Regions from separate parts of the Homo sapiens genome. Here region 2 is linked to region 1. Evidence: promoter capture Hi-C in human tissues and cell types (Jung and others, 2019). All regions are on one chromosome and are shown on one strand. Each heading gives the region's core, a stretch centred on a gene start or on the middle of the fragment in contact. The rest is flanking DNA. Distances are from core to core; before and after follow the strand shown. Region 1 holds the start of FAM91A1 (family with sequence similarity 91 member A1). Region 2 has its middle 10 kb from the start of FBXO32.

Region 1 (2,913 bases), core at 231-2,730:
CCACCATTCCAAACTTCCCAAAAATGCCACTGCCGAGTGCCAACAGAAAACTGAATTTCACTCTCGACCAAGTATAATGGGAGGAAGCGAAGGTCAATCTATGACCAGAGCAGCAGTGCGTTATCTGTAGCCCATATCACTACTTTCGTAAGACTTAAAACCATCTGCTATGTTACGTATTTATTCATTTATTTGTTTACGTCTTTCTTTAGTAAAATGTAAGCTCCATGAAGGCAGTCTTTGTCTTGTTGACTGTTGCAAATTACCTGCACCTAGAGCAACGCACAGCACCTAGTAGGTGGTCAATAAATATCTATTAAACAATTGAGTAAAACAGACTAAAAAAATCGAGAATTAACTTTCAAAAACCTCATGTCACTCTTGTTGAAACATCTCTGATAAACCCATCTTGTCTGGAGGATAAAGTCCAACAAAACAAAGCACACAAGCACCTTCAAAATCTGGCCCTGACCACTTTTCCAGGCTCATCTGCTACCAGCCCCGCGCACTCAAAAAACTTCAACTCCAAACATGTCAGTCCAAACTCTGGTGATACAGTCACTTGCTACTCATGAGACATGTTCTTTCACTCATCCAAGCTTTGTAAAATGACTTTCCCTCCCCCTGGAAAAATCTTTATTCCCTCTTATTTAACTCTTATTCGTCCTCCAAGGCCCAATTTAAGTGCCTGCCTTAAAAATCCTTCCAACTCTCCCAGGATAATTTCTCCCTCCCTCTGCTCTCACATATACTACAATGCAGGTGTGTATGAGCTGCTATCATCCTGTATCGTATTCATTTGTTTCCCATCCCTTTCCCACCATCCTGAAATTCCGGAGGTCAAGGACCGTGTTTAAAATCTCTATCGCAGGTGCCTGGCTGAATGTATCCTGCGGGCAAAGGCGCCAGTCGAGTCCTGTGGACACCATGCCATCCCATTTAGCGATCGCCCCGTCCTGGCCCTGTGGCCCCACAGCCGTCCCCTCCTCGCCCTGGGCTGAAGGTCCGTCTCCCCAAGACCACGGAGGAGTAAAGGAAGGGAGTCAGCCGGCAGCAGCCCGCTCGGGCCCCGCGAGCGAGGCAAGCAGGTGACCGCTGGGCGGGCCGAATCCGTCAGGGGCCCGGTCCCAGGTTCCGGCCGTACCTGTCTCACGTTGGCCGGCAACTTGTTCCAGGGGTAGTTGTGCCGGATGTGGAACTCCACGTCTATGTTCATGATGCCGCGGCCAGGGCCGGCGGCCGGGGCCGCCACCGCGACCCACACTACGCCTCCCGCCTGCCCGCCCGCAGCCTGTCAGCGGAGCGACGCGGGAGGCCCCGCGCCTCACACTGCAGAAGGCCCAGGCTGCCCCATGGCCTAGGCTCCCGACAGTTCAGCGCCGCCCGGGCCAACCGAGTACAAGAGCAGCAGCGATTGGAGGCTGGATCGCCTGAACAGCTCCAAGTTTCTTCCTAGTTTCGGGCCGCCGGAAATGGCTCTGGGCACACGTCACTTCCGCCCGCTGGCGCGCGGCCGGAGGGGCGGGGCACGGACTGGCCTCTAGCCACGCCCTCTACAGGCTGCGGGGCGGGGCGACGACGAGGTACCGGGAGGTGCCCGGGTGAGCGTTCCCCGCCCGCGCGCTTCGTCTCCCCGTTTCAGTCTCTGAATGAACGGCGATAGTCGCTTGGGTCTGCGTTGCCGTTGCTGATGACCCAGTTTACTCAAATTGTAAAGCCGGAGGCACTGGGGTCGGTTTTCAGAGAAAAGCGACCTGGGAAGCGGGCCGGCAGTGGCTGGCTTTACATTGGAGTGCGGTGCGCTCGCGGGGGTTCTCCACAGGCCAGCCCGGAACCCGGGCCAGTGAGACGGGGCGGGGGGTTGCGGGGACGGGTCCAGGGCCCTGGAGAAAGAAATAATCTCTAAGTCAGGTCTCGCACCGGGTTGAGCGAGAAGCATGGGCAGTGGGAGAGCAAAGGTCTGGTAAGCCCTCTTCCCTTCCGCGGTGTGCTGCACGTCATTGGGCTCCACTTCCCAAGAAGATCCAAATTCTTACAATGCAGGGATTCAGGGAGCTGAAATTTTAAACAGTGGTGCTGACAGGTCGAGGCAGCCTACAGGGCTGACAGAGAGATACCCTTGCCAACTTTGTCATGCAGCCTGTCGGTTTCTGCTTTATTCTGCTCCACACAAATGCCTCCAGAGTCACTTAAAAGCAAAAATCCAGCATGTCTTAATTTCAGATTGAGTGATAAGGTCTTTGGGAATAATTTCTTTCAGAAGTTGTTACGCTGCCTTAGCAAACCCGTGACCATTATTCCTGGCAGCAACCAGAGACAAGTTCAGTGTTATTGCAACTGTTTTTCAGTTTTTAACAATGGTTTTAAATAATGTTTTATTATATACTGGGAGATGTATACTTAGAACTTTTTATAAGATACCTAGCTCACACCTCAACAGCTGGCAAGTCTGATGCTTAGCAGAAACCCCATTATGTCTGATGAAATAAAGGTGACAAGTACACACTGCCCTTGCTTAGATGTTTTGGTCTCCTATTATCCAACTATAATAACCCAAAGATAAGTGCTTTGAACCTTATGTTTACAGATCCTCATCAGCATAGCTAAGGTTAACTGAACTCTAACCGTGAGACATTTATTCAACAAATATTGATTACCTGCCCGCCATGTATTAAGGCCTTGACTTGACAATAGATTATTCCTCACAACCCTGATATTCCTACAACAGTAACCACTTACTATCCCAGTTTGATAGAGGAGGAGACTGAGGCTTGGCAGGGCTTCATGACTTGCTCGCAAGATCACACAGGTAGCACTGACAGAGCCAAACTGGAGCCGAAGGCTATCCTCACTCCAGAGCCATCCTTTCAGTTCCCCAACTCAGGCTCTCACTCACTGAACTCTTCTACCTCC
Region 2 (2,913 bases), core at 308-2,807, 220 kb after region 1:
TGTGGCCAACACCCCTCACTGATGCTGGCAGGAATGCCCTCCCAACAGAGAACCCCCAACCTCCTTCCTTCACTCCCCCAGAAGAATGTGTCATTCGCCAAACCTTTAAGTCACATACCTGACCCTGGCTGGACCACAGCAGAGAGTGAAAAGATCAGGTCTTTTTAGGTCCCGTTTTTGGAAGTGAGCATGACCTCCCACCAAGGCTGCACACAGTGAAGTATCCCCTAAAAATGAGGGGGCTAGCAGAAAATGGGTTCTAACCAGATGGCAAAAAAAATAAGATAAATTTTTACCATGAATTCATTGACTTACTGATTTTAGGTAATTTCATTATTTGTTTGTTTGGTTGAAATAAAGTTTATTATAACTACTTTATAGAGAGAACTAGCACGATATATATATTCATAACATTTTTAAGGCATTTGAAAATGGAACATGTACAGGAGTGCTGTAACCACTGGCAGAGAAAGACCATCTTATTCAAGATGGGTCAGAAAGGTGAAGGTAACAAGAACAGATCCCTTCTGAATGTTGTTCCAAATACAGTTCCTGCCTCTTCTTCTGGGCAGGTCTGGGCAATTAGGAAGAAGTCCTTCCAGCAACACAGGCAATCTCCCCAGGGGCAGAGGAAGCACAGAATTTGTTCTGTTCTCTGCCCGAAAGTCAGTGAAAGTGAAGTCTCTCTCAGAACAATGAGACTGCAGTCCTCAAGCTTCCACTCAACCATTTATTTCTTCTTTTACCTAAACCAGAATCTTATTTTTTTCTTTTTTGTTTGCTTTATTTTTTTATTACACTTTAAGTTCTAGGGTACATGTGCACAATGTGCAGGTTTGTTACATATGTATATATGTGCCATGTTGATGTGCTGCACCCATCAACTCGTCATTTACATTAGGTATATCTCCTAATGCTATCCCTCCCCCCTTCCCCCACCCCATGACAGGCCCTGGGGTGTGATGTTCCCCTTCCTGTGTCTAAGTGTTCTCATTGTTCAATTCCCACCTATGAGTGAGAACATGCGGTGTTTGGTTTTTTGTCCTCGCAATAGTTTGCTCAGAATGATGTACCTAAACCAGAATCTTGAAAGGCCCTGCTTGGCACTTCCCTTTCCTCATCCCTTGCAAGGAGGCATTCAGGGTGTCCTGCAGTGTTTGCCTCTTAGGTGTGGCATGAGTCTGTCCCAGCTCTCCATGGCACTCCCAGTTCTGCTGCTCATCAACTGTTGCCTGGAAACAGCCACATCCTCCTAACTGGTCTCTTGCCCCCTGTCACGTATTTCTTCTATCCATCTCTCTACTCGGCAAGAGAATCTCCCTACAGCACTATCTGCCCATTGGTGGTCTCCTGCTTACAGCTCTTCCATGGCTCCCATCATTTCAGACAAAGCCCAGGCTTTCCAGTAAGGCACATGGAGCCCTCTGCAATCTCACCCTGGCCTATTTCCCCATCACCAGCTATCCTCATGCCCTGCTCCACATCCTATTCTTCACCATGTCATATGCTGCTCCTCTCCTCTCCGCCATTGTTCCTACTGTCTCCTCTCCCCGGAATGCCCACCCACTCCCATCCTTACCTCCATTTGCTTGATTAATTCCTACCCGTCCTTTAAGACCTGGTTTGAGACCAACTCCACGAAGCTTCCTCTGACTATTCCAGGCTGATTAGGTGCTTTATCCTCCTAAGTGCTCTAATGGTGCCCTGTATCTCTTTCTCTCTCTCTCTCTCTCCCCCCCCTCCCCCCACCTCCCTACCTCCCTCTTTTCTCCACCCCCTTCACTGCACATAGGCTCGGCTTTAGGTATACATATTAATGTCTCTCTCTCTCCTTACAGCCTGTACACTCGCTAAGGGTAAGTGTTCATCTTTGTGTTCTCAAAGCTGCTTTAGAAGAGCACCAGGATCATAGCAATGGCATGATGCATCCCTGTTGAGACAATGAATGAGTAATAATTTGTAATATATTTTACCACCCCAAAAATGCTCTAAAACAGAACTAAAGATAGGCATTCCTATTGCTTAGCTGATAGAGGAGGGGAAAAAATCTAAGACATGCACCATCTCTTCAAAATATACACAGTTTCAAGACATTAGCAGAGGTTTTATGGCATACCACTTTTAGCAAAGCAGATGTTTAAAATACTAAATTATTTATTAAATTACTATCAACCGTGGTTGAAAATATTATGTCCCTTAAGGGACTGAACTTCTCAGGCTGTAGTTGGAATGAAAGAGAAGATGAACATTCTGTACTTCTTTTTAAATCACTTTCTTCTTCCTGAAATGAATGCAGTATTTAAAAGAAATCAAGGATTCATTTGCTTTTTATTCTTATTGAATCGCCTGAGAGAAGCAGTAAGACGGCTTGCAGTTGATGGGCCACAGTTGACACACACTGAAATCTCCTATGTGCCAGGAATCAGGTTTTTTTTTTTGTTTTTTTGTTTTTTTTTTTCATAAAATAACCTTTATACAGGATTAGTAGATCTGTTTACATACAAAAAACAGAAAGGACCTCATTACTGTTAGATTTCACATAAATTACACATTGACTTTTAAAAACTACTATTCAACTTCATTTAAAGTCCCTTTTAAGGATAGCATTAGGAGAAATACCTAATGTAGATAACAGGATGATGGGTGCAGCAAACCACCATGGTACGTGTATACCTATGTAACAAACCTGCACATTCTGCACATGTATCCCAGAACTTAAAGTATAATAATAAAATAATAATAAAGTCCCTTTTAAAAATTTCATTTTTGCTGGGTACCGTGGCTCATGCCTGTAGTCCCAGCACTTTGGGAGGCCTAGGCGGGTGGATCACGAGGTCAGGAATTCGAGACCACCCTGGCCAACATGGTGAAACCCCGTCTCTGCTAAAGATACAAAAAAATTGGCCGGGCACG

Evidence for each region. The method cuts DNA at HindIII sites, captures the fragments that hold promoters and counts their contacts. A contact is called where the count stands out against the background at its distance.
Region 2: a fragment that was not itself captured here is called in contact with the fragment with the promoter of FAM91A1 in region 1 in 1 of the 25 tissues and cell types used here (mesenchymal stem cells).

Annotation. Positions count from the first base shown.
Region 1 is chr8:123,767,006-123,769,918 of GRCh38, reverse strand. FAM91A1 (family with sequence similarity 91 member A1) reads right to left here and starts at 1,480. Exons shown (of 24, transcript NM_144963.4): 1 at 1,145-1,480. The coding sequence starts at 1,216. RefSeq lists a silencer at 1,145-1,294. The HindIII fragment of the contact is 9,142 bases long and covers 1-2,913 here.
Region 2 is chr8:123,549,967-123,552,879 of GRCh38, reverse strand. No RefSeq gene overlaps it. Among named protein-coding and RNA genes, the nearest start is that of FBXO32, 10 kb to the right of the region's middle. The HindIII fragment of the contact is 3,908 bases long and covers 1-2,913 here.